7 separate regions of the Homo sapiens genome follow, and regions 1, 3, 4, 5, 6 and 7 are each linked to region 2. The links are contacts of gene promoters, found by promoter capture Hi-C in blood cells and fetal thymus (Javierre and others, 2016). All regions are on one chromosome and are shown on one strand. The core of a region is centred on a gene start or on the middle of the fragment in contact, and the rest is flanking DNA. Distances in the headings are between cores, read along the strand shown.

Evidence for each region. Contacts are between HindIII fragments. The CHiCAGO score rates a contact against its expected background, and 5 or more counts as called.
Region 1: a fragment that was not itself captured here is called in contact with the fragment with the promoter of RAI1 in region 2 in 1 of 17 cell types (M1 macrophages); the score reaches 6.1 in M1 macrophages.
Region 3: a contact is called between a fragment that was not itself captured here and the fragment with the promoter of RAI1 in region 2, in 8 of 17 cell types (naive CD4 T cells, naive B cells, total CD4 T cells and 5 more). The highest score is 7.9, in naive CD4 T cells.
Region 4: a fragment that was not itself captured here is called in contact with the fragment with the promoter of RAI1 in region 2 in 5 of 17 cell types (fetal thymus, M1 macrophages, monocytes and 2 more); the score reaches 8.6 in fetal thymus.
Region 5: a contact is called between a fragment that was not itself captured here and the fragment with the promoter of RAI1 in region 2, in 2 of 17 cell types (total CD4 T cells and naive CD4 T cells). The highest score is 5.3, in total CD4 T cells.
Region 6: a contact is called between a fragment that was not itself captured here and the fragment with the promoter of RAI1 in region 2, in 2 of 17 cell types (naive CD4 T cells and total CD8 T cells). The highest score is 6.5, in naive CD4 T cells.
Region 7: a contact is called between a fragment that was not itself captured here and the fragment with the promoter of RAI1 in region 2, in 5 of 17 cell types (M1 macrophages, total CD4 T cells, naive CD4 T cells and 2 more). The highest score is 5.8, in M1 macrophages.

Annotation. Positions count from the first base shown.
Region 1 is chr17:17,365,698-17,369,378 of GRCh38, forward strand. No RefSeq gene overlaps it. Among named protein-coding and RNA genes, the nearest start is that of NT5M, 64 kb to the left of the region's middle. The HindIII fragment of the contact is 1,908 bases long and covers 1,015-2,922 here.
Region 2 is chr17:17,680,194-17,684,031 of GRCh38, forward strand. RAI1 (retinoic acid induced 1) reads left to right here and starts at 1,265. Exons shown (of 6, transcript NM_030665.4): 1 at 1,265-1,600. RefSeq lists silencers at 986-1,495, 1,526-1,665, 1,726-1,805, 1,817-1,989, 1,976-2,925 and an enhancer at 1,306-1,907. The HindIII fragment of the contact is 10,976 bases long and covers 1-3,838 here.
Region 3 is chr17:17,973,851-17,977,400 of GRCh38, forward strand. It overlaps DRC3 (dynein regulatory complex subunit 3), which reads left to right. Exons shown (of 14, transcript NM_031294.4): 2 at 2-112. Among named protein-coding and RNA genes, the nearest start is that of DRC3, 2.8 kb to the left of the region's middle. The HindIII fragment of the contact is 3,914 bases long and covers 1-3,231 here.
Region 4 is chr17:17,348,508-17,352,626 of GRCh38, forward strand. No RefSeq gene overlaps it. Among named protein-coding and RNA genes, the nearest start is that of NT5M, 47 kb to the left of the region's middle. RefSeq lists enhancers at 2,924-3,503, 3,768-4,062. The HindIII fragment of the contact is 819 bases long and covers 1,919-2,737 here.
Region 5 is chr17:18,058,582-18,062,671 of GRCh38, forward strand. It overlaps GID4 (GID complex subunit 4 homolog), which reads left to right. Exons shown (of 6, transcript NM_024052.5): 4 at 287-388; 5 at 3,264-3,394. Among named protein-coding and RNA genes, the nearest start is that of GID4, 21 kb to the left of the region's middle. The HindIII fragment of the contact is 2,832 bases long and covers 1-2,691 here.
Region 6 is chr17:17,993,545-17,997,182 of GRCh38, forward strand. It overlaps DRC3 (dynein regulatory complex subunit 3), which reads left to right. Exons shown (of 14, transcript NM_031294.4): 7 at 755-874; 8 at 1,455-1,567. Among named protein-coding and RNA genes, the nearest start is that of DRC3, 23 kb to the left of the region's middle. RefSeq lists a silencer at 1,292-1,458. The HindIII fragment of the contact is 1,263 bases long and covers 759-2,021 here.
Region 7 is chr17:18,011,117-18,015,274 of GRCh38, forward strand. The region is part of intron 12 of DRC3 (dynein regulatory complex subunit 3); the gene reads left to right. It also overlaps the pseudogene LOC100419436 and a transcript of ATPAF2 not described here. Among named protein-coding and RNA genes, the nearest start is that of ATPAF2, 26 kb to the right of the region's middle. The HindIII fragment of the contact is 4,361 bases long and covers 1-3,947 here.

The sequences.
Region 1 (3,681 bases), core at 719-3,218, 310 kb before region 2:
CACAGGGTTCCTCCTTGGCAGGGTGTGGTGGCCGCAGTAATCTGTCTAGCCCATATGTCCTCTGCACATGGCTCTGTCTCTCCCCTTGATTCTGGGAGGATGTGTAACTTGCTGAGGAGCAATAGAATGTGAGAAACAATGCAGCTTCTGCTTGGTTTGCTGAAATGCCACGTAAGCAGGCCAGCTGCTCGAGCTGCCATGCTGTGAGGAAGTCCAACAAGCCCACACAGATAAACATCAGGAGGAAGAGATGCCCCGCCAGGGGCTCAGAACCGCAAACGCACGACAGACTGTTTGGCTGAGCCCTCCTGTAATTCCTTAGGCACAAAAATTATGAGAAACAATAGTGTTGTCTCTGCTGCTAAGTTTTGCATGCTTTGTTACACAGAAGTAGTAACTGACTCAGAGATGGTTGGTGCAGACCCAAGGATGGGTCTTCTCTCAGAAGTCTTGGCTGTGGTCCAGAGTTGGGGTTGAGATTTTGGAGTGGAGTAGCTTGGCCAATGAAATGAGCACAGAAGTGACCGATGCCACTCCTGGTGGAAAAGCCTGTGTGCTACTCTCTTGCCTGCTTTGGCAAACTTTGAAGCCTCCCTTTGAGATGGGGGTGTCTTAAGATGGTGAAACATGTTAGTTTGAGTGGGTCCCTGAAGATCTGCAAAGAGAGAAACCACTCCCATCAAGCCAAACCTTAGTGGTATTAAGCCCTTGAGATTTGGGGGTTGTTTGTTACTGTAGCTTAAAGTGACCTCTCCTGACTGATACATGATACAAACAAATAATAAGAGTGAAATGTTTCCCATTTTATTGTTGAGAGACTGGGATATCGAGAACATTCAGTTAAGCATTAGCTCTTATTATAATTCCAATTCCTGTGTCTAAATGGAGACCCTGAGATGTGGAGTTGAATGCAAGAAGTTTGTTTGGAAGCTGATTCCTGGAAGCACTGATGGTGAGGTGGAGAAGTGAGATGGTGAAGGAAAAGGAATTTGATTACTGGGTGCAGGGATGAGAAGCTTACTGCTGTGGGTAACTGGGGTTTGGTCCTTCTGGGGATCTCTGGGAGACTGTGCACAGCATGCTTCAGGTGATCCCAGCCCAGAGGTACGGGAGCTGGGGATTTACCCATCTGCTTCCATCAATTGTTAGTTGAGGGCTGCTCCTGGGGTGTCAGCTGTCAGGCAGGCCCTCGGGCTTGCCCTGGGCACACAGCAGCATGTTCTTTGGCCAGGGGAAGTCTTCGGGCAGAGGCCCTGGCTTTGCAGGGAGGAGCTGTTGGTGAGAACAGACTTTGCCTGCTCTGGGAGTGCGGGGGAGGCATCCTACTTTACAGATGAGGAAGAGAGCTCTTGGGAGTCATCTGTGCCACAGCCTTAGCATGACCCCTGGCCCTTCCGACTTCCGGGCTTACGTTTTGGATCGCTGAGCCTCTTGGTGGGAAAAGCATAGAACACCAGGACGGGACCTCCTGTCCTGAGTCTCAGCTCCTGGTGGGAAGGGACTGCGTCTCTTTTGCTGTGACCAGCAGCTCTGCATCTGTGGAAATGTCCCGCAGGGGAGCAACCCAAGACCCAGGCGGGCTCTCAGGGACCCTCGTGGGCTGCCAGCTGGACAGCAGCCCAAGGGTTTGATGTGGGGCTCTCTTCCTTGCTGTGTGAGTCTGGGACCTCTCTGGGCCCTGGTTGTAATATGTGACCCTGCTTTGCCCAGAATTTGTGCACAGAGCAGATGACATGCTGGGTAGAATGCGAGGTACTGGAGCCACTGAGCACAGAGCTGGGATCAGCGCAGCGTTCTAATCTGTAGGGCAGTCGGCACGGCTGACAGGCAAAGCTGCCAAGGCTCAGCGAGGGAAGGGAGGCCGGAGGGGCTGGGGTCTGGGGCACACTCTCGTCTGTCCTCCGTCCCTGGAGGTGTTTCCTCTCCCCAGTCCCTGTTTGCTATTGACCCCCTGGCATCCATGCATTAATCACCCGCCATTTGGACACATTTATTTAGTACCTTCTAAGGCCCTGCAGGAGGAGGAGTCAAGTGAGGCTTCAAAGAGACGTATAATTGAATTAGGATGAAAAGCATAGAAACACATAACTCAGGGCTCAGAAATGCATTTTGATTGACGGAGCACAGAGTCTTGCCGAGAAGTTGCTCCTATGCTTGAAGCCCCCAAGGGAGGGACTTTGCCTGCCCTGGGATGAGAATCTACACCCTCCCGATCAGGTTTTTGGATTTTAGGGATGGAAAAGAAAAGGTACTTGGAGACATCCCAGAGAGGCCTCTGACCGAGATGATGGCGAAGGCAGGAATAGGGCTCTGGTGTCTCCAAGACTGAGCCAGGCAGGGCTCTGGGGGCCTTGGAGACTGTGGGATTGATGCTGCTGAATGCCAAGAGACACTGGGGTGATGTCAGCTGGACTTCCTCTCTGGAGGGTCAGGACTCACCCACGTGGTGCTGGACGGCCAAGCTCTCATTCATTCTGTGGGTCTGAGAGGGCAGGAGATCCCACACCACTGACTGGGTGAGTGACTGCTCAAATGGGATTTAAAATAACTTCAGGCAGGGCACTGTGGCTCACGCCTGTCATCCCAGCACTCTGGGAGGCTGAGGTTGGTGGATCACCTGAGGTCAGGAGTTCAAGACCAGCTTGGTCAACATGATAAAACTCTGTCTCTACTAAAAATTAGCCGGGCATGGTGGTGTGCCCCTGTAATCCCAGCTACTTGGGAGGCTGAGGTGGGAGAATTGCTTGAACCCGGGAGGTGGAGGCTGTAGTGAGCTGAGATTGCGCCATTGTACTCCAGCCTGGGCGACAGAGTGAGACCCCATCTCAAAATAAAATAAAATAAAATAAAATAAAATAAAATAAAATAAAATGACTTTTAAAAAATAAAGAGGTATGAATAAAAACAAAAACAACACACTGAAGCTTGGGGAATGCAGCAAAAGCAGTGCTAAAAGGGAATTTTCGACCTGTTAAATGCTTATGGGAAGGCCCGGCGCGGTGGCTCAAGCCTGTAATCCCAGCACTTTGGGAGGCCGAGGTGGGTGGATCACGAGGTCAGGAGATAGAGACCATCCTGGCTAACATGGTGAAACCCTGTCTCTACTAAAAAAATACAAAAAAATTAGCTGGGCATGGTGGCGGGTGCCTGTAGTCCCAGCTACTCCGGAGGCTGAGGCAGGAGAATGGCATGAACCCGGGAGGTGGAGCTTGCAGTGAGCCGAGATCACGCCACTGCACTCCAGCCTGGGCGACAGAGCGGGACTCCGTCTCAAAAAAAAAAAAAAATGCTTATGGTGAAAAACAAGAAAGATCTCAAATCAACAACCTAACTTTACAACTTAAGGAACTAGAAAACAAAAACAAAAACAAAACAGAATAAGCCCAAATAGCAGAAGAGAGGAAATAATTAAGATTAGAGCAGAGATAAATAATATAGAGAATAGAAAAACAATAGAGAAAATCAATGAAACAAAAGTTGATTCTTTTAAAAGACCAACAAAAATTGACAAAACTAACAAGAATGACTAAGAAAAAAAAGAGAAAAAACTTAAATTATCAAAATCAGAAATTAAAGTAGGGACATTACTACTGATTTTACAGGAATAAAAAGGATTATAAGAAAACGCTATGAACACTTGTATGCCAACAAATTGGATAACCTAGATGAAATGGAGAAATT
Region 2 (3,838 bases), core at 15-2,514:
TTGACCAGCTCCCCTCTGCCCTACCAAAGGACAAATGAGGGAGGCTTCGATGGGGCTGTTAATGGGGTCATATCCCACAGACCCTAGAGCCTGGGTGGGGCTGAGAGGCTTCCCAAGCAGGTGGCAGTGAGCTCCCACCTGAGCTATGGCAAGTAGAGACCTAGGCATGAAATTGCTCCGAGGTCTGTACCTTAAGTTTCATGCAAGGACTCTCTCATTCAACATGCCTCTGTTTAAAGTCTGCCAGTGGCTACCTTCCTTGCACTAGAATTGCAAACAAATTCCTCACTGAGCTCTCTGCAGCCCTGCAGGCTCTGGCCCTCCCGATATGGCTCTGACTTCAATGTGCCCATTACTTGTCCCCTTGCTGACGGCCTCCTCACAATTCCACTTACTCACCAAGTTCTCTCCTGCCTCAGGACCTTTGCACTTGATGTTCTTTCTGCCAATGATGCTCTTCCCAGGAGGGCAGGCCCCTGTAGTCCCAGCTACTCAGAAGGCTGAGGTGGGAGGACTGTTTGAGGCCAGGAATTCAAGTTCGGCCTGGGCAACACAGCAAGACCCTGCCTCTAAAAGAACAAAATGCTCTTCCCAGACTCTACCCATGGCGGTTCCTCTTGCTATTTAGATCTTTGCACAGACAGGCCTCCTTCTCTCTCCCCCAGCCAAGGAGCCCTAGCCGTCACTTCACCTGCTAATTTTCGTCCTAGCACTTACTGCTCTAAAATTATCTTCGTCATGTATCTAAGCATTTGTTTGCTGTCTGTCTCTTCCCACCAGGATGCCAGCTCCACGACAGCAGGGACCGCATTGTCTCTGCTGATTCCTCAAGACTCAGCAAGGTGCCAGGTGCCCAGTAAATGAAGTTTACATGAAGCCAATGGAGTTTTGAAATCGAAAATGTTTCTCAAACTGCAAAGAAGTGGGCACAGGTGAGGGCTAATGGTGGGGTGAGGGTGGGGGCCTGGCCTGACGCTGGAAGCTCCTGTACGCAGGGCGCTAGTGTCCTCCCAGGCCGCACCGGGATCCCACCGCAGAGGCCCCCTCCCGCAGGCCGGCCAGCGGGCGGGGGGCGCGCAGTGGGGCGCGCGGACCGCCAGGGGGTGCTGTCGGGGCGCGCACGGCCCACCTGGCGCCCGGGGCCGCGAGCGAGCGCAGCCAGGCCGCCCGGGAACTTTTTTCCTCGCGCTCTTGCTCTCCTTCTCCCCCCGCGCGTCGCCCGCCCGCCCGTCCGCTCGTCCGCTCTTCCTGTGCGGAGGGGATCGCATTCCTCGCGGCACCCGCGGACACCAGGCAGGCCCGGCCGGGTGCGCGGCCAAGGCCCGCTCCCCGCGTCCCCGGGCGCCGCCCCCGCCCGCGGCTGGGCTCCGAGAGACGAGTGGGAGAGCGAGTGCAGCGAGGGCGAGAGGCGAGCCGAGCAGGCCGCCCTGCCCGCGGCCCTAGCGCCGGCGCGAGGAGGGGGCGCCGCGGCCCACCCTCCTTCCTGCCTGGCCGCGGGCCGGCCGGGCCGCCGCGCCCCGACCCCCATGGCCACCCAGGCCTCCGGGCCGCGAAGTCGCAGCGCCAGACCCAAGGCCCCCGAGTGAGCGCGGGCGCCGAGGTGAGCAGCGAGCGCCGGGGCGCGGGGGGCGCAGTGTATCCTGCCCCGGGGCGGGGGCGGCGCGAGGCGTCGGGATCCTAGGCCGGGTGATGAGCCGAGGCGGGTTCGGACGCCGAGCGCGCGCGCTGGGTGGAGATGTGGGGTCCGCGGGGTCCTTGCTTTGTGTGGTGTGGGGGGTGCGCGAGGTCACCGGATGGACGTCTGGGGAGCTGCAGGGTGGGGGCGCCCTGCGCCGCGGCTGAGGGTCTTCTGGGGGATGTGCGGCCAGCTGAGGTCGGGTGGGGGCATGGGGGCGCGAGGGGCGAGTGTGGCAAGGGATCTGCTTGCGCCGAGGCGCGGAGTCTTTGCGGAGCGTGGGGTGGGGACGTGGGGTGCATTCGCGGGGCGCCGGGGGCGGAGGTGAGCTTTGTGAGTGCGTCCGAGGTGGGGGACGGGGAGCTGACTTCCCCATGCGTGACCCGGGCCCGGCGTGGCCATCGCTTGGGAGTCAGGGCCGGCGAAGGCCGTGCGTGGCGAGATGGGTGCTCGGGCTCTCTGCGGTGTCCCTACCCGGGCAGCGGCCCCGGGGCCTGTGCGCAGGCCCCGAGGCCGGGCAGGAAGCGGCCCCCGCGACCTGGGGAGCTCTGTAGCGGCCAGGCCCGGGAGGCACGGGCCCTTCGGGGATGACGTCACGGGCGGGGGCCCCGGACACGCGAGCCTTGCGCCCCACAGACGGCGGCGCAGCCCGCCGCCCTTTTCGAGGCCGGCCCCCCCTCTCACGCGCCTTGAAGGCAGGGAACCCGGGAGGAGGACATGGGGGCCGAGTGCGGCGGGGACAAGGGGTGGCAGGACGCGAGGGTGACATTTGGAGCCTGGTCGCGCCAGGGGCCTCCGTGGTGGGGCGGAGGGGAAGCGAAACACCAGCCAGGCCCTAGGCCGTCGCGGCCCCAGCTTCCTGGGGCGCCCGTTTTCCCGGCTAGCAGTTTTCTTTCTTGGGGCTCTTGGTCGTTATCCAGTCCACGCAGGGGCCGGAGTGCGGGCTGCCGCGGTGCTCTCCTGCGCGGAGCCCGGGCTGGCGGGGGCGCGGCGGGCCTCGGGCTCTGAATGGATGGGAGCGAGTGTAACAATGCGCCGGTGGGGGCTGGGGGAGGGGAGGCCGCGCGCCTGAATGGCGGAGCCGGCCGGGCGCTGCTCCGCGCGCCGCACACTCTCCCGCGCCGCCTTCCCCGCGGTTTCGGCGGGCCCGGATTCAGGGACCCACTCGGGATCTGCACGGTTCCTCCCACCAATACTGTCCCCCGCCCCCCTTTTATGTCTTTCCAATGCAGTAGTGTGTTGAGAATTCAAGGGCATTACATCTGGTTGCAATCCAGTTTCATGCCGCTGCCGGGCTGTTAAGACCTCGCGCTGACGTCAGAGCAGGGGAATTACTTCTTTTTATTTTATCTTTTTTTAGTTGTCTGCTGCCCTGGGAGGAGAGGCGGGGGTGGGTTAGGCTAGCTCTGATGTGGAGGCGCCAGCGTGATGGGAGCCCCGAGCTGGGGGCTCTGCTTCTCTTCCTGCCCCTGCCCCCCTCCATTCTCCATACAGTCCTCGCTCTGCTCAGGGTCAGGCCCACCCCAGGTGGGGGGCAGCCCTCGCTGCAGACTGAATGGTGGCCCCTCCCTGCTGACCACACAGCTGGGTTTTCAGAGGCTTTCCTGGGACGTGGCCCTCGGGATCTAGAAACTGGAAAGGAATCTTCTAGTTTCCCACCCCTCCCCCTCTTGACAGGCAAGCCGGTATATTCGGGGCCCAGGAGCAAGGAAAAGTGGCCTTTTGCGTGACACAGAAGTGGACACATCATTCTGATCTCAGGGCAGGCTCAGCCCCATAACTCTGGCAAAAGCTCTCACAAGCAAAAGCCTTGGAGAGGAGGAGAATGTATCAAGGTGAGATCCAGGCCCCAGAAGCCAACTGTGGAGTGGGCAAAATAGGACCTTTCCCACCAGCCTAGCATCCCTCTGGCTTCTGTGGAGATAAAGGGAACTCAGGGGTACTGGAGCTGCCTTTCTCTTCCACTAGACTGTGGGGCTCTCATAGGCAGGGACCCTGTCTTACTCCTCTTTGTTTTATTTTTGAGACAGGGTCTTGCTGTGTGGCCCAGGCTGGAGTGCCTTGGCACAAACACAGCTCACTTCAGCCTCAACCTCCAGGGCTCAAGCGATCCTCCAGCATCAGTCTCCTGAGTAGCTGGGATCACAGGCGCCCGACACCACA
Region 3 (3,550 bases), core at 25-2,524, 290 kb after region 2:
GGAAAATTCTGGATCTGTTATCTGTGAGGAGGCCACTCCGTTGACAGTTGTGTAAAACTCTGCTGCTTTCCCCAGCTCCAACCTCTCTGGTCTTCAACAACACTATCATCAGGCAAGTCAAAGGGGACCCAGGTTGGGTGGTAAACTATAAGATCCCCATAGAAGAGGACTGTTTGGGCCTTGGCCCTGAACCCAGGACAACTGTGAGAAACACTGTGAGCTGTGGCAATGATAGTCCCCAGTACCCTGGATACAGTTGAGTCATGATTAGGAAAATGAACTCTGCCACGTGCTAAGTGTATGAAGTTGGGCATGTTAATTAACCTTTTTAACTAGCTTCTGTTTTCTTATCTGGATATTGGTGAGTATTAGCCCTACATGTAAATTAAGTTTCTAGAAATTTCTCCCATCTACATCTTGCTAACACCCTGGTCATCTCTCACCTCAGTACTTTTGCAATTCTCAGTACTGTTGCTAGAGTGAGCTTCTTAAAAACTAAGATCTGATCACATTGCTTCCCTTATTTTTTTTATTTTTTGAGATGGAGTTTCGCTCTTGTTGCCCAGGCTGGAGTGCAATGGCACGATCTCGGCTCACCGCAACCTCCGCCTCCCGGTTTCAAGCGATTCTCCTGCCTCAGCCTCCAGGGTAGCTGGGACTACAGGCATGCACCACCATGCCCAGCTAATGTTGCTGCCCTTATTAAGCCCTAGGTGCTTTCCAGGGATTCTAGGATAATAACAAAACTCCCACAGACCTCTCCAAACTTGCATCACTTCAGCCAAAGTGCAACAAGTCTGTTCTCTCCCACCTAAAGGGCCTTTCCACAAAGTTACCTCCTCCTTCTTTCCTGCTTGTCCTTCCAATCAGCCCTGTCTTCCTTGGCCAGGCCAGGTGCCCCTAATGTACAATTTCATAGTTCCCTACACCTACAAATTGTCATGGTTTGTAGTTAAATATTTGTATTATTGTTTGATTCATGCCTGAAGCTGGGTTAAAGTCCGTCTGTTTTATTCACAGCATATAGCAGTTACTCACTACCCATGTGTGGACTAAATACGTGATCTCACACAAATGCAGAAGGGAGAAATTATCCACCTTTTACAGATGGGAAAGCCAAGGCTTAGATAGGTGAAGTGAGTTGCCAAAAGATGCACAGTCAGGATCCAAATCCTGCTCTGATGTGCTTAACAAATAGCATATGTAATAACAATCCCCCATTTCCTAGCATAGCAATTGCTGGGCTTGACTGAAAGCAAACTTGATCTGTCACAGGTACCAGGCCCTGATGAAGTAGGAGGGATAAGTCAGTTAAAGTTTTGAAATCAAAATTAAGAGTCATTTCCCAAAGTATAGCACCTTTTTTTTTTTTTTTTTCTTGATGGAGTCTCGCTCTATCACCAGGCTAGAGTGCAGTGGTGCACGATCTCGGCTCACTGCAACCTCCAACTCCCTGGTTCAAGCGATTCTCCTGCCTCAGCCTGTCAAGTAGCTGGGATTACAGACATGCGCCACCATGCCCAGCTAATTTTTGTATTTTTAATAAAGTCAGGGTTTCACCATGTTGGCCAGGATGGTCTTGATCTCCTGACCTTGTGATCCGCCCACCTCGGCCTCCCAAAGTGCTGGGATTACAAGTGTGAGCCACCGCGCCTGACCTCCCCACCCCCCCCCCAAAAAAAAGGCCAAACACTTTGCAGAAAACATCAGCCAAATATAACACATTAAAATTCCCCCAAAGACAAGTTGATGACAAGTTATGGGAAACCGCAGGGGAAGCCATTGCATAAGAGTGGGGAGCTAGAGAGAGGCCGAGGTCTGGAACTGTCTTTGGGGGTAGAATCAGTCACCCCAACGAGGTGGAGCCAGTGTGAACAGATTGGAGAGAGTGGGAGGAAAAGGACCAAGGTCTTGGGAGGACGGAAGGCACAGGTGGAGAAGGGGTAGGGGTTGAAGGGTGTGGAGGCTATGCCTCCCCTGGAAGCAAGAGAGAAGTGTGCACAAGAGCTCATTGGGACATTTGATGAGGGACAGTTCAGGGCAGAGGATGCATATTTGCAGAAGCTGCATCCAAGTGGATGGTCAGGGAGGCAAGAGGAGGGCAGTCTTAGAGGGAAGTCTCTAAGACCAGGTAACAGGATTGTATGGCCCAACCTGGCTTTTCAGCAGACACCATCAGCCCTGCACCAGGAGTTTCTCCAGCAGTGCCCAGTGGAATGAAAAACAGAGCACAGGGGCTGCCTAGCATCAGGGACCAGCAGGGCAGAAGGACAGGAGGTTCAGGGAGGCCCAGATGCTGGGAAGGCATGTAGACAAAGATAGGAAGTAGGGCCAGCAGGGAGGCAAGAATCAGGGGTGGAAAGTGGGGGAAAATATCCCTCCTGGATGTCCTCACCAAGAGGGTTGATAAGGATGAGAATGTGGTCCAGCCACGAACGGCAGCCTGGAGTCAGCCTCACATTGTGACTGACCAAATCTACAGATCCCCCCTGTGCTGTGGTGTCTCAGTCAAATCCCTCTGGACCATTAGCAACAGAATCTACTGGAGGCTGGGCACGGTGGCTCATGCCTGTAATCCCAGCACTTTGGGAAGCGGAGGCAGGTGGATCACCTGAGGTCAGGAGTTTGAGACCAGCCTGGCCAACATGGTGAAACCCCGTTTCTACTAAAAATACAAAAAATTAGCCAGGCGTAGTGGTGGACACCTGAAATCCTAGTTACTCAGGAGGCTGAGGCAGGAGAATCGCTTGAATCCGGGCGTTGCAGTGAGCTGAGACCGCGCCATTGTGCCCCAGCCTGGGCGACAGAGCGAGACTCTGTCTCAAAAAAAATAAATTAATTAAATTAAAAAATAACCTACTGGAGCTAGCTTAAGTAGAAGAGGATTTCATGTGAGAAACAGGAAACTCTCATGAGGCCTGGACCTAGGGACATTAGGGACTGGAAAGCCAGCAAGAAGGAGGCAGCCTCTGTCTGTGTCGATCTGTCTGTCCTTTGTCTTTTGTTTTCTGATTCCCAGGTTCCCATCTCTGCTTTTCTCTGTGCATCTGCCTCCTCCCCCTCTTGCTCTCTGCTTAACTATGTACCCAGCCAGCCCACACTCCCTATTCCTCCCCAGCTCAAGCAGCCAGCTCCGATGGGCACTCTCATTCCACAGCCTCAACTTCACATCTCCCACGGGGAGGACGTGAATGGGCAGCTTGGGTCAGGGGCTCCCTCTGCACCAGGAGAAGCTTGTGGTGTGGTGTGGGGCATACACACATGACGGCCTGGAGGGGGTGAGGTGCTCAAGGAAGAGGAGCTGCAGGCTGACAGGCCTGGCTGGGGCTGCCCAGGGAGCACAGTCAGTGGTTGGTACCCACAAGCCCAAGTGAGGATGGGCATACAAAGTCAGAGGCCTGACACAGGGCCACAGTCATAAGATGAGTCAAGATCACAGGCTAGGGAGACCAGTGTGGACACCAGTCCAGTGGGTCCAGCGAGGGTCCCAGCTGTGGCTGTAGGGTCAAGGGATGAAACCCTGTGGACAGGCCCAGGTGGTTGCCAGGAA
Region 4 (4,119 bases), core at 1,078-3,577, 330 kb before region 2:
GCTCCATCACCCCAGCTAAGGGAGGAAGGACCCCTCCAGGCCCCATAACCCCAGCTTAGGGAGGAAGGACCCTTCCAGGCTCCATCACCCCAGCTTAGGGAGGGAGGATCCCTCCAGGCTCCGTCACCCACCTTAGGGAGGGAGGACTCCTCCAGGCTCCATCACCCCAGCTTAGGGAGGAAGAACTCTAGGCTTGGCCAAAGGCAGATCTCCACGGCACCCCCACCCCCTTACCCGCTGAACTGACATTTTTCTTTGGGGTGAAGGGGAGAGGCTGAACCAGGAATATATTTGGGGTTGCATCACATGATCTGAAACCATCTGGTCCAGGCAGGGTGGTGGTTGGAAGAGTCCTGGCTGTCTTGCCACATGGCTCTGGAGGGAAGTCTGACCCTGGGGTGCTGGCTGCCCAGCTGCTCCTGAGTCCCTCTGCCTCTTCCTGCTGTCTGAGGTCTCACCTGTGGGGCCCTGAAAGTCCCTCCTCATGAAGGGCCAGGAGAATGTGTGATGTGCAACTCCTTTCTTGTCCCCAGCAGGGCCTGTCCACCTGCTCCACGCCCTGTCCTGAGAGGGACTGCCCCATCAGAAGACTCGAGTCACAGGGACTCTCCTGGGGCCAGCCACACCCTGAAAACATTGTGACTATAGCTTGGGGTGCAGAAAACAACTTGGCTTGTTTCCATCCTGGGGGTCCTTCTGATGACAGAAACTCAATCCTGTCCAGATTTTCTCAGCCACATCCTGGTTTCTCCCTCCCTCCTCCTGCCCAGGGAGAGCCCCGGGCCTGGGGGCTGACTTGGTGCAGGGGTGTGGGTCGGGTTGCTGAGAGCAGTGTTCACGGACCCCGAGGGAGCTGTGGAGGGGCCCTGAGGCCTTCTGTCCACAAAGAGGGGAGCAGGGCCTGGTGGGGTACCACTGGGGGACATTCCCTCCTGCCTCTTACACCAGCCAGGGAATCTTTGTTGAGTCTAGGGCAGGGCAGGGCTGGGCAGTCTCCGTCAGCTCCTAACCAAGCATCCGCAAGAGTAACATGCTCTGAATCCTTCAGGAGACGGACTGTTGCGAAACCTTTTAGACTGATAATTGCCATCAGTTTTAAAGGTCAGTTTAGGAACTCCATGCTCCAAATTGCCACATTTGTTCTCTGCTGTTATCATCACTCACCCCGAGGTGGGCAGCTGCTTCAGCCACATAATTTATTTAAAGAAAAAAAAATAATTGCAGGGGCAAAAATGTTTCAGAACATGACCCCACCCGACGGTCTCAAAGCAACTTGCTGTGACGTTAACAAGCACTTCGAGGGGTGCCTGGGGCTGCCGAGGCACTGTGGAGCAGCAGGAGGAGGCCCCGGGGGCCTCAGGTCCCAGCACGGTCTCCTATGTGGAAGAAGGGGCCAGCCCCTGGCTGAGACGCCCTGCAGAGACCCAGGGCTGGGGGGAGCTTGCTGAGGTGGAAATGGGAAGCAGGCGTTGATGAGTGAGGTGCCGTCTGCACCTGGATGCTCAGCCGGCTGCTGCCGTCCCCATTGCACTGACCTTGGCTGAGACCCCAAATTCATGATCGTGTCAACAGTCTCCTGATTGAGGCCAGGCGCAGTGGCTCACGCCTGTAATCCCAAAACTTTAGGAGGCTGAGGCAGATGAATCAGTTGAGGCCAGGAGTTCGAGAGCAGCCTGGCCAACATGGTGAAACCCTGTCTCTACTAAAAATACAAAAATTAGCTGGGCGTGGTGGCGGGCGCCTGTAATCCCAGCTACTCGAGAGGCTGAGGCAGGAGAATCGCTTGAACCCGGGAGGCAGAGGTTGCAGTGAGCCAAGATCGCGCCACTGCACTCTAGCTTGGGTGGCAGAGAAAATTCCATCTCAACAACAAAAAAATTCTGATTGAAATGAAGGTCACTTTCTTGAAAGCTTGGGAAGCTTGTGTTTTGCCTCAGAACCAGTTTTTGAACCCCAGAAAAGAAGATCCACCCCCGTTAGGAGAGCTAGGCCTGGTTCTGCCCCATGGCACATCAGCTCTATCCCTCCCTTATCCACCAGGCTGGCCTCTCAGTGACTCAGCTCTCGGTGAAAGTTGTGATTCATTTGAAAATATTGGAAAGATTCAGAGCTCTAGGACCAGAGCCCCTGGAAGGGGTGACATCCCCCAGGTGGAGAGGGCGCTGGGAAAGCAGGTTTGTGGAGCATGTAGGAATCGTGGCCGCACGCTCAGGTATGTGGGGAATGTGCCCCTGTTTCTCTGTCCTGCCAGAGGGTGGAGGAATCTGACTCCCCTACCTGCTCTTCAGCAGCGGGGCCTCCAGCAGGGGGGCCTCTAGCAGAGGGGCCTTGTCATTGTCCCCATGCTGCTCCCCCTTGGCCCTTCATCCCTGTCTGTGCAGGGTGTCCATCTGTCCTCGGTGAGGGGCCACTGCTGCCTGGCCTCGCCCCCACCCTGGGGACCCTGCTGAGGATGGGAACACTGCTCCTGGCCCTCAGACCTCTCTGGGGTTTGTGGTTCCCCGAGCCTGGGGTTCTGACCAGGGGTGGGCTGACCACAGGTCACCTTCTGAGGGACCCCTGGTATCTCCTGCATGGACTCCTCGAGTGCCTGAGCCCAGGGGGAGAGCAGCCTGGGCCTGTCCAGGGCTCACTGGCCCAGGTTCCCCACCCTAGGCCAGCTCTTCTTGACACATGTAGGCTGTGAGTCCTCACCCCGTGGGGTCGTCAGGCCAGATGAGGCCATGCATGTGAGGAAAGCTTCTGATCCTTCTCCAGTCCACGGCAGTGCCATTCCCACCTGTGGGGGGGAGGAGGCAGGCTCGGGAGGTGCAGTTACGTTCCCGAGGCCATGCGGCGTTCGACCTGGGTCAGCCTTGCTCAGTGTTTCTCAGGAGGCCCTCCTTTTGTCCACGTGGCCTTTTCCTCAGACGTTTTTGTGAAGGACGATGTGGCAGAGCCCTTCTGGCTGGGCCCTCTACCCGTCTCCACCCCAGAGGGCCCAGGGACTGCGCAAGCTGCTGATGGGGACCCCCACACTGAGCGGGGTGTCCCATGCCTAGGAAGGACAGATTCCTTGGCCAGCGTTGCTGAGCCTCTGTCCTGTCACTCACCCCCTTCCAGGCTCCGAGGGATGTGAGGACTTCAGACCACACACTTCCCAGGGCACATGTGTCGCTGGGGATCCCTCATCAGTCCATTTGCACCTGTGCTGTGGGGAGCCGGTCTCTGCTGCACTTGGGCAGCCCGCCCCGGCGGAGGGCAACCCCTTAATGAGCCTTAGCAGGTGGCATGTGGGCCAGCGTGTCCCAGCACGAGACGTTCTTGTGCTGGGTCCCTTCAGCTTTAGCCTCAGTGGGCAATTGGCCCAAGTCCCTGGCTGCTTCCCCACTGCAGCCCCTACCCAGCTTGGGTGGGGTCCTCACTGCCCACCCCGCCCCCCGCCACCTTGGCCCCCTTCCAGGTTCCAGACTTCCACTTGCGTGTGTCAGAAACGCAGCTCAAACCCACCCATGTGCACGTGCGCAAAGCTCGTTGGCCTGGGAGGCCCAGGGCACGCTCACCCCCAGGGGGTCACACAGTCTGACCAGGCTTTCGCGTCCTTCCTGCTCTCTCACTGCACTGTCCGCTTCTGCTTCCCAGCCTGTGGACGCTCCCTGGAGGGCAGAGCAGCTGGCACACCATGCCCATGCTCTGAGCGAGCAGCTGAGCTCTGGCCCACAGTGGTTGCAGATGATGTCGTAGAAAGGGCCCAGAAATAGCGAGGGGTGGTGGTGGCGGCAAACCTGGCAGCAGAGCCTGTGACAAGTGCAGTGACGCCTCACAGCGGGCTCAGGGGGTGGGTGGCCTGGTCTGAAGTCACCATAAGCAGAACAGGCTTCGCACCAGGACATCCGGGTCAATAACAGCCGGCCCCAGGCTGGCGATGACTCATGTTGGAGGGGCTATGGCCAGTGCCGTGGAGGACAGGCGTGGGAGCAGTCTCACCAGATTAAGTTTACTTCCAGCATTTGGGTCTAAACCCTCCAATGAACAGATGGGCTGGGGATGTGGCCTGTTTGCCGCAGGCGACAGAGGCTGCTGTGTGGCGAGTACTGCGGCAGGGCCTGCTCTGCGTCCCGTGCACCCTGGGGTGGCACT
Region 5 (4,090 bases), core at 26-2,525, 380 kb after region 2:
GTTCACCATTCCCATCCTTTGGCCTTTTCCTCAGCCATGTTAACAAGGCAGGTGTAGGGCAGTGGGGCCCCAGCTGGAGTCCAGGTATCTGCCCCAGGGTTGAGTCTGCATTCAATGGGGTGACCATAGGGCCCCATCTGTTACTTGGTCTTAGCTGCCCTTTTGGGAGCCACGTCCCTAGCTGTCATGCCTTGGGAAGGTGAGTTTACCTGGGCACATAAGCATAGTTCTGAGAGCAGCCTCTCCTTCTCTCAGTCAATCGGCACACTCTCTTTTCTGCTTTCAGGGCAAGTTTCTGGCTTTTTATCAGTATGCAAAATCATTTAACTCAGATGACTTTGATTATGAAGAGCTGAAGAATGGAGACTACGTCTTCATGAGGTGGAAGGTAAGTTCCCACCAGGTGGCCCTCCAGACTCCCAGCAAGCCAGGCCCTGTATCGCACCTACATATTCACTCTAACCAAGGGCTCCCCATGTCCAGTGCTCGTCACAGCTGGTTGTCATGGCAAAGTCTTCATGGCAGGGTCTTTGCACGCCTATAAAAAGTGGGCCCAGCTCCAGGGCACGCACTGGTTAACTGCCGATGTCCCAGACAGCTCCTCCTCGCTGTGCTTTTGGTGGGTAGCAAGTGGATTTGGGCCTAGGTGGCTGCCTCTAACATTGTCTTCTCCCTTTCCTTTCTCCCACCCAAGAATCTTGTTGAACCCCCAAGTTGAATCACTCCAAGTGTTCTGTGGATTCAAGGCAGAGCCAAACTTGCTTTGAACTTAGTCATCAGTTGTACCCAGATCCCTCTACAGGCTTAAACACCATCCGTGGGCCAGGTGCCCTCCACCACATCCTTTTCCCAGAGCTCAGGAAAGTCTCACCTCCTCTACTTCCCTCCAGCTCAGGAAATGAGGGACCGGGAATGGAACACGGGTTTTTGACTCAGCAGACCTCAGAGAGCCCCACCTGACTGACTTGATGGATTGGCTTTTAGCTGCGAGGTCATTTGTGCTCCCTGCTTTGATAACGTGATATTTACAGCCCCAGAATAGCAAAATCAGGAAGCCAGTTTGTTAAATAACTTTGAGAACATACCAACCCCTAGTCCCCAGTCTGCAGGGAAAAAGTCGTTTTATCTTGAAATCTTGTCAGCTTTCATAAAGATGAATCATATTGAGTTGCCTTTCCTGGTCTTTATTTTGCATAGCTAACCACTTTAGGAAGTGGGGATCGGCCGGGCGTGGTGGATCACACCTGTAATCCCAGCACTTTGGGAGGCTGAAGCAGGCAGATCATGAGGTCAAGAGATTGAGACCATCCTGGCCAACATGGTGAAAACCCATCTCTACTAAAAAATACAAAAAATTAGCCGGGCATGTTGGCATGCCCCTGTAGTCGCAGCTACTCAGGAGGCTAAGGCAGGGGAATCACTTGAACCTGGGAGATGGAAGTTGCAGTGAGCTGAGATCACGCCACTGCACTCCAGCCTGGCGACAGAGCAAGACTCCATCTCAAAAAAAAAAAAAAAAAAAAAAGAAATGGGGATCACTGGGCGCGGTGGCTCATGCCTGTAATCCCAGCACTTTGGGAGGCCAAGAGAGCCAGATCACGAGGTCAGGAGTTCGAGACCAGCCTGGCCAATGTGGTGAAACCCCGTCTTTACTAAAAATACAAAAATTAGCCAGGTGTAGTGGTGCACGCCTGTAATCCCAGCTACTCGGGAGGCTGAGGCAGGAGAATCACTTGAACCCAGGAGGTGGAGGTTGCAGTGAGCCAAGATTGCGCTACTGCACTCCAGGCTGGGTGACAGAGCAAGACTCTGTCTCACCAAAAAAAAAAAAAAAAAAAAAAAGAAGTGGGGATCACCACTCTTCCAGTAGGTTGCCAGATGCAGAGAGTAAACAGGGAACAGTATGCTCACGAGCTTGCCATCTAGCGGGAAACATGTCAACTAAACAACCTGTTAAAGGAAGTTTATTGTTTGAATTTTGTTTGTTTTGAGACGGAATCTCACTCTGTTGCCCAGGCTGGAGTGCAGTGGCACAGTCTTGGCTCACTGCAACCTCCGTCTCCCAGGTTCAAGCAAGTCTCCTGCCTCCGCCTCCTGAGTAACTGGGACTACAAGCGCGTACCACCACGCCTGGCTAATTTTTGGGTTTTTTTGTTTGTTTGTTTGTTTTTTGAGACAGTCTCACTCTGTTGCCCAGGCTGGAGTGCAATGGCGCGATCTCGGTTCTCTGCAACCTCCCCGTCCCGTGTTCAAGCAATTCTCCTGCCTCAGCCTCCCAAGTAGCTGGGATTACAGGTGCCCGCCAACATGCCCTGCTAATTTTTTGTATTTTTAGTAGAGACGGGTTTTCGCCATATTGGCCAGGCTGGTCTCAAACTCCTGACCTCAGGTGATCCACCCACCTCAGCCTCCCAAAGTGTTGGGATTGCAGGCATAAGCCACCACACCCGATCTGAATTTTAAAATTAATTTTAAAAGCCACAATTTTAGAAGTTGAATAAGGAATGGGAGGGTGTCTTAAATTTGTTTAAAAAGCAATGGGCTTGTTTTGCCTCCAAAGAATGTCTCAGAGTGGCTCATCTGTGGTCCTTTAGTAGACCACCTGAGGCCCTGGAGCTTCTGACCTCATCTCTCTGGGAAAGTAGGTGCCAGGACCTGGGTTTCCAGCTTTCAGCTCCAGCAGAGGTGGCAAGCTTGCCTCTCTCCTAAGGTCCCTGGTAAAGAACAGTACCGTTCTGACTGCTTTTGACAAGGCGTCAAGCTCTTGGAGGGGGTGTCACAGGGGCTACTGGCAACTGCTTTGCACTCAGAATGGTCCACAGACCTACAGAAGCGACTCACTGTTCTAGATGTTATCAAGCATCTGTTGACAGTTCTGAGAACTGGAGCAGAAACTTCGCTCTTCCCAGGTTGATTGTCTGTGGTCTCTGAAAGATAGAGAGGCAGGCAGACAGGCAGGTGAGTAGGTATTGATTTATATATTAGATGTTTCGGCCATGGTACCTTCTCTGAATTGCTGATCCTAGTGAGCTCAAGACACAGTTTGTCACTTTAGTATATAGAATACTCCAGGAGCACATGGACGCTTTTTAGAAGTCAGGCTGAGACCCCACGGGCCCGCCATCACCCAGCAAGTCTAGGTTAGACTATGAGATCCTATATTTTTCTCGAGTGGTCCTTAGAACCCCCTGATGCTTAACAGGGAGGCCCCGTGGGTGGTCAGAGAATGCTATCTGTTACTGACCCTCTTCATCTGTGTGCAGGAACAGTTTCTGGTCCCAGATCACACGATCAAAGACATCAGTGGTGCTTCTTTTGCCGGGTTCTACTACATCTGCTTTCAGAAGTCAGCAGCCTCCATAGAGGGCTACTACTACCATAGGAGTTCAGAATGGTGAGGACCTCTGAGGACAGAGGCCACGGGGAGGGCTTGCTGCCCAGCTGGCTCTCCCTTGGCTCATCAAACCCAAAAGCAACATCTTAGCCTGTCTCTGTATAGATTCTGTGCTTTATTTGGATGCTGAGAGCTTATTTCAGTGATCTCAGTTGCTCACAATAAGGCCTTATCCCTATGCACAGAGCAGAGTAAATGAGATGAAAATGAATTATAGGTGAAAGAACTCATTTCTAAGCACTTTTAAGCAATACTGTATTTTTGGCAATGTTTATCTCAATCTTGCTGGTTTTTATTTAATCCTTGCAAATTGAATTAGTAACTAAAATGTGAATTGATCCAGTACTGGACAATGTGAATTTTGCTGTCAGCAGCTTTTTAAATTTTGTGGCTGCATTCCTTAGAGTTGGTCCGACATGCACTTGATTTAAGGCTCATGACCTGGGGGCCTGTGAGTGGACAGTCCTGTCCAGTGTGTCACCAATAGTAAAGGACTGAACTCTGCCTGAATGCTAACTTTTGCCACCTTTTGAGGGATTCTCCTGCCTCCTTGCTGCTTTTTAAGCACCTTGCTGTCCCCGGAGGGCAAACCATGTGATAAAATGCCTGATTTCCTCTCTGAAGGTAAAAATTCTTTCTTTCCAGTATTTAACACTTTGTTATATGTGAAGTGATCCTACCCTAGATTCCTTGTTC
Region 6 (3,638 bases), core at 140-2,639, 310 kb after region 2:
CTCAAGGCCAAGCCAGGATTCACCCTAAGTTGGTGTCATCCCAGGAGCAATATTAACAGCTGAGCTCCAGAGGGAACCAGGCCATCAGAGGCTCAGGCCTGGCTCTCAGGGGCAGAGTCAGGGCTGGAGGTAGAGACCTGAGTGTCATCTGAGGATTGCCAATTGGCAGTAGTTGAAGCCATGGTACAGGTGGGATCACCTGGGGCACATGGAGTGAGCTGGGGGACGGGGACTAAGTTCTAGAGGTGCCAGCATTCCTGGCCAGGTACAGGGGGATGAGCCAGTGCGGTGGAGAGAGCCAAGGGCCAGACCCTCGTGACCAGCCCTATGGCCTCACTCTACCTCTGTCCTGTTGTCCTCCTTCCCTAAAAGAGGGCCAGAAGGCCTGCTGAGGGCTGTTGGGAGTGAGAGAGCAAGTCCTCTGTGGAGAACACCCAGTCTGGGGCGAGGGGAGCGCTCCATTGCTGTGGCTCCTGCCCTGGAGATGGCCCCGGGAACCCCAGCCTGCCACGCTGCCTTCCGCTCCTCCTGGTCTTTCCCTGATTTCCCTGCGCTCACAAAAACCTGGTGAGGGTCATCAGGAGATGGGCATTCTCATCCACGAGACCTCATGGCTTTCACAGCCTTCATGCAGGCCCCTGTGCAACACCCCTGCCCATGCGCGGGAGGCTGCAGCATGGCAGAGGCGGCATGGCAGAGGCGGTGTGGCTCGGAGGAACCTCTGGTAACAATGCCACTCCCGTTCCCTGGTCAGAAAAAGCTTGCGGAGGCTAAGCACCAGTACAGCATCGACGAGCTGAAGCACCAGGAGAACCTGATGCAGGCCCAGCTGGAGGACGAGCAGGCGCAGCGGGAGGAGCTAGAGAAGCACAAGGTACCGTTCCGGCAGGCTGCACGCCCTCGGCCCCCTCAGATGCCCACAAGAGGGCACTGATCAAGTAAAACGGTCCTCAGGGATCCCCAGGCTCTGAAAACACAGAAATCATGCTCCCTCCACAGGGCCTGATGCCCTCTCCCTTCCTGGCTCATCTGCTGTCTGCCCCAGGGCCAGCTCCGTCTCAGTCCAGACCCTGACCCTACTCCTTACTGGCATTCCTGCCTCCAGCTGCTGGAGAGAATGTGCTAAAAACAGTCTGTCAGAGGCCCCTTAAGACCCTTAAGGCAGTTCCCCATGACATGCCAGGAACGGCTCAGGTCCTGTAGCCATGGCCCTGAATTCATGACTGGACCCAGTTGGCCTCTTTCCCACCAGTCTCCACCCCTCCTTGCAACCAGACTGAGAAATGTATAACATTCTGGAAACAGCCTGCAGTTTTATGCCTCTGCACCTCTGCACATGCCATTCTCTTTGTCTGGAACATGCTCCCTCCTGACCTGCCTTCCTCATGGGCCTGTGAGATGATGCAGGGGCCCCTGACAGGAGCCGTCCTACCTACGTGTGTTTCTGCCTGCAGACTGCGTTTGTGGAACACCTGAATGGCTCCTTCCTGTTTGACAGCATGTACGCTGAGGACTCAGAGGGCAACAATCTGTCCTACCTGCCTGGTGTCGGTGAGCTCCTTGAGACATATCCTTCTGAGTTCATGGCTGTCTCAGAGCCTCTGCCACCAGCCTGCCTTGGCAAGGCCCCTTCCGCTCTAGGCCTCAGTTTCTTCATCTCTCTTGTAAGACCTTGGGAGGTAAAATCTCCACTTGAGAGCAATGTACCCAACAGGCAGTTCAGAGTCCGGTCAGCTGAGCTGCATGGGGGAGATGCTGTCTGGATTTCAGGGACATGTGTAGTATCTGGTCAGCATGGCATGGGCTGGCCATGTTTGGCAAGCCAGGTTTTCAGAGGTGGAGAAATGGATTGAAATGTGTTCTCATTAGCCATACTCACTTGTTCTTGTTGTGCACTTGGATCTGGCATTTATTGTTTTCTCAACCACCCCACTAGGCAGGTACCATCATTAACCCCATTTTATAGTTGGGGAAACATAGCTTGGCTGTCCAGGGTCACCCCATTAGAGGCCAGCTTTTGAAGCTTTGTCTGTGGGGCCTGAGAATCTCATTCTTTCCCCAGTTGCCTGGAGCCCAGAGGACGTGGTTGGTACCTGTCATTAGGGCTGAGGCTGTGACCATCGATCAATGGGCTTAAGTTGTGAGCTGAGGGACTCAGGACAGAATCAAGGAGCTCCTGGATCTGAGAGCTCTGAGCTAAGGCATCCAGTCACAGGTGAGTCTGTGGAGCCACCTTCACTGGATAGAGAAAAATTCACTCAAAAACCTGACATTCTGGGCCTGTGAGGTGGCTCATGCCTATAATCCCAGCACTTTGGGAGGCCAAGGCAGGAGGATTGCTTGAGGCCAGGAATTTGAGACCAGTCTAGGCTAGGCAATGTAGTGAGACCCTATCTGTATTAGTCTGTTTTCACGCTCCTGATAAAGATATACTTGAGACTGGGCAATTTACAAAAGAAAGAGGTTTTTGGTTTTTTTGTTTTTTTGTTTTTTGAGACAGCGTTGCGCTGTTGTTGCCCAGGCTGGAGTGCAATTGCGCAATCTCAGCTCACTGCAACCTCCGCCTCCTGGGTTCAAGCGATTTTCCTGCCTCAGCCTCCCAAGTAGTTGGGATTACAGGCATGCGCCACCACACCTGGCTAATTTTTTGTATTTAGTAGAGACTGGGTTTCACTATGTTGGTCAGGCTGGTCTCAAACTCCTGACCTCAGGTGATCTGCCTCGGCCTTCCAAAGTGTTGGGATTACAGGCGTGAGCCACCGTGCCCAGCCAGAAAGAGGTTTAATTGAACTTACAGTTCTACATGGCTGGGGAGGCCTCACAATCATGGCAGAAGGCAAGGAGGAGCAAGTCACATCTTACATGGGCAGTGGGCAAAGAAAGAAAGCCTGTGCAGGGAAACTCCCATATTTAAAACCATCAGATCTCATGAGACTCATTCACTATCATGAGAACAGCACAGGAAAGACTCACCCCCATAATTCAATTACCCCCCACCGGGTTCCTCCCACAACACATGGGAATTATGGGAGTTACAATTCAAGATGAGTTTGGGTGGAGACACAGCCAAACCATATCACCATCTCTAAAAAAAACCAAACACACCTGACATTCTGGAAAGAATGAGGGCAGGGTGGTGAGGAATAGTGAAGAGCAGGGCTCCAGAGCTGGGTTGTTTCTGCCAGCTGGTGACCCAGGTTTGCCTTGGCTGTAGCCCTGTGTAGCCGTGTGACTTTGGGCAAGGCATTTCATCTCTCTGGGCATCAGTTTCCATCCCACAGGATCACCAAGGTCCTGTAGGCTTTACCTGGTTGACTCCAAGGACTCCGTGTCGCAGGCCCTTTTGTACCCTCAGCTGCAGATGAGGAAACTGAGGCCCAGAGAGGTGAAGTGACTTGCCAGGGTGGGTCCTGGAAGCAGTGGCAGAGCCAGGACTTGAACATCCCCAGCACAGCTACAGCAGCTGAGCACCAAGACAGGCCCTCAGTAAGGGTGCCCTTCCAGATAGCACACCAGAGACAGAAACGCACACTGCCTGCTTCCCCAGCTGGGACCGGCTCGCAGGCCCCCAGGGTCCCCAGGCCTCTCTTCTGGGGCCTCTCTGAGCATGTCTGCCTTCTGCTCTGTAGACTCCGCAA
Region 7 (4,158 bases), core at 517-3,016, 330 kb after region 2:
CCAGCTAATTTTGTATTTTTAGTAGAGATGGGGTTTCTCCATGTTGGTCAGGCTGGTCTCAAACTCCTGACCTCAGGTAATCTGCCCGCCTCAGCCTCCCAAAGTGCTGGGATTACAGGCGTGAGCCGCCACGCCAGGCCTAGGATGAGGTTTTAAAGATTATGCCAGTGCAGAAGCAGACCTGCCCCAGCCAGCGCAGCAGGTTCAAGGCGTTTGTTGCCATCAGGGATTACAATGGCCGTGTCACTCTGGGTGTTAAGTGCTCCAAGGAAGCAGCCACTGCTGTCAGAGGGATCACTGTCCTGACCAAGCTCTCTACTGTCCCCGTGCAGAGGCCACTGGGGGACCAAGATTGCAAGCCCCACACTGTCCCTTGCAAGATGACAGGCTGCTGCGGCTCTGTGCTGCTGCACCTTATTCCTGCACCCAGGGGCACTGGCATCCTCTTGGCCTCTGTGCCCAAGAAGATGCTGCTGATGTCCAGTATTGACAACTGCTACACCTCAGCCAGGAGCTGCAGTGCCACCCTGGGCAACTTTGCCAAGGCCACCTTTGATGCCATCTCCAAGACCTATAGCTACCTGCCCCCTGACCTCTGGGAGGAGACTGTGTTCACCAAGTCTTCCTCTCAGTAATTCACTGACCATCTTGTCAAGACCCACACCAGAGTCTCTGTGTGGAGGACTCAGGCTTCAGCTGTGGCTACAACACAGGGTTTTGTTTTGAGATGGAGCCTTGCTCTATCGCCCAGGCTGGAGTGCAGTGGTGCAGTCCTGGCTCACTGCAACCTCCACCACCTGGGTTCACATGATCCTCCTACCTCAGCCTCCCGAGTACCTGGGACTACAAGCGCACACCACCATGCCTGGTTAATTTTTTGTATTTTTAGTAGAGATGGGGTTTTACCAATGTTGGCCGGCCAGGCTGGTCTCAAACTCCTGACCTCAAGTGATCCGCCCACCTTGGCTTCCCAAAGTAACACAGGGTTTTTATATAAGAAAAATAAAGTGAATTAAGCCTGTTTAAAACAAACAAAAACACAGATACATAAACCAATGAAACAGAATAGAGAACTCAGAAATTAATCTATATATTTACAGCCAACTGATTTTTGACAAAAGCGCCAAGAACACTCACTGGGGAAAAGACAGTCTCTTCAATAGATTTTGCTGGGAAAACTGGATATCCATATGCAGAAGAATGAAACTAGATTCCCATCTCTCACTCTATACAAAAATCAACTAAAAATGGATCTAAGACCTACATGTAAGACCTGAAACTGGCAGGGCGCAGTGGCTCATGCCTGTAATCCCAGCACTTTGGGAGCCTGAGACAGACAGGTCGCTGGAGCTCATGAGTTGGAGACCAGCCTGGGCAACATGGCAAAGACCCACCTCTCTATAAAAAATACAAAAATTAGCTGGGCATGGTGGTACCTGCCTATAGTCCCAGCTACTCAGGATGCTGAGGTGGGAGGATGGCTTGAGCCCAGGAGGTGGAGGTTGTAGTGAGCTGAAATTGCACCACTGCACTCCAGCCTGAGCAATAGAGCCAGACTTTGTCTCAGAAGAAAAAAAAAAAGACCTGAAACTATAAAATGACCAGAAGAAAACAAGAGAAATGCTTTAGGACATTGGCCTGGGAAAAAATTTTATGAATAAGACCTCAAAAGCACAGACAACAAAAGCAAAAATAAATGGAATATATCAAACTATAAATCTTCTGCACAGCAAATGAAACAACAGAGTGAAAAGACACCCTACACAATGTGACAAAATATTTGCAAACTACTTATCTGACAGGGTATTAATATCCAGAATATACAATGAACTCTAACATCTCAATAGCAAAAAAACAAACAATTCAATTAAAAACATCTGAACAGATGTTTCTCAAAAGAAGACATACAAATGGCCAACAAATACATTAAAAACTTTTCAGCATCACTAGTTATCAGGGAAATGCAAATAAGAACCAGAATGAGGCATCATCTCACCCCACTTAGGATGATAATTATCAAAAAGACAAAAAATAACAAATGCTGGTGAGGATGCAAAGAAAAAGGAACTCATATACTGTAAGTAAGAATGTAAACTAGGACAGCCACTAGGAAGAACATTGTGGAGGGCCCTCAAAAACTACAAACAGAACTATCATATGATCCAGCAATCTCACTACTGAGCATTTGTCTAAAGGAAAGGAAATCACTATATTGAAAACATATCTGCACCCATGTTTACTGCAGCACTGTTCGCAATAACAAGATACAGAATCAACCTAGGTGTCCAACAACAGATGACTGGATAAAGAAAATGTGGTACCTATACACAATGGAATACTATTCAGCCATAAAAAAAGAATGAAATCCATGGCAACATGGATGGAACTGGAGGACATTATGTTAAGTGAAATAAGCCAGGAACAGAAAGTTAAACACCTCATGTTCTCACTCATATGCCGAAGCTAAAAAAGTTGATCTCATAGAAGTAAAAACAAGAACAGAGGCTTCTAGAGACTGGGAAGGGTAGAGAGATGGAGGAATAGGGAGAGATTTGTTAAAGGATATACCAAATTACAGCTAGATAGGGGGAATAAGTTCTAGTGTTCTATACCACTATGGGATGACTATAGTTGACAATAATATAGTTTCAAATAGCTAAAAGGAGGATATTGAATGTTCTCAACACAAAGAAATGATAAATGTTTGAGACGGATATGCTAATACCCTGATCTGATCACTATACATGATAGGTGTTGAAACATCACTATGTACCCCATCAATATGTACAGTTATTTGTCAATTTTTTTAATGCCAATTTTTTTTTTTTTTTTTGAGGTGGAGTTTCACTGTTGTTGCCCAGGCTGTAGTGCAGTGGTGCAATCTTGGCTCACTGCAACCTCGGCCTCCCAGGTTCAAGCTATCCTCCTGCCTTAGCCTTCCAAGTAGATGGGATTACAGGCACCCGCCACCATGCCCAGCTAATTTTTGTATTTTTATTCACCATATTGGCCAGGCTGGTCTTGAACTCCTGACTGAGGTGATCCACCCACCTTCCCGCCTTGGCCTCCCAAAGTGCTGAGATTACAGGCATGTGACACCGTGCCCGGCCAGTGCCAACGTGTTTAAACAAAGAAGTTGCTTTGAAAGAAATGTGTCTTTACAGCCACAAGGACCACAGAGCAGGGCAACAGCTCAAAAAAGACTCAGGAATACCTGTTTGCACAGCCCCTGCCTCCACCCTAGTGCTTTCAACCTGCAGAAACTGGAGAGGGATCTGGAATATTCTACCCATAAAAACTATTCTAAGAGGGAAAATTGAAGTAGCCACCACTCTAGGCCACCCAAAGTCCAGAAACAACTTGTAACTCACATTTCAAAACAATTCCCTTAAACCCAGTTTCCTTTTGTTTTCATTTTACAAATGTCACACAGTTTTTCATAACCAATTCTAATCATGTATGTTTCTAAGCAGATTTCAGTTTCTGTTGCTTCTCACAGCTTTTGAAGCTGTTTTCTACATATTCAAACTCTGAGGGGTATGATTTCTCTGCCTGGCTTAGAGCTCCACTATGACCCACCTTTTAGAATGAAGGATGAGAACCTTTTCGTGATGGGTTGACACTGTGGTTGTAGTTATCTCTAAAATAACCAGGACACCCACTCCTAAGCACACTGCCAAGGCTCACCGAAAACAGGCTTTACACACCTTTGAACCATTCCCAGAGCCTGGCCTGGGACCTTGTACACACATGGAAAGAACTTAATAATTTCTTGACATTTCTCCCTTGTGACTGTGCTAATTGGTCCCCCAGACACCCCATTCCACATATCAGCTAACCTGGCTTTTCCCACATGAGATTATGTGGAAAATCAGCATCCCACAAGACATTAACAGGCATTACTCTGAAGTCTGTAGCCAAAAAAGTTGGAAAACCAAGAGAGACAAAGCTTAAAGGGTTTATTTTCCACAGGACTTTGTAGAGCCTTCAGAATACTTTGTGCCCAGCAAATCTTTAGGAGGGGCCTAGGATGTGCTGGCTTTCCCAAATGTATTTGACCAAAGAATACTTTTTTTGGCAGAAATATTAACATCTTAAGATTGCACAGAACGTTTTAGAGACCATTAAGTTAACTGCCACTACAGGAAAGAACAAAAA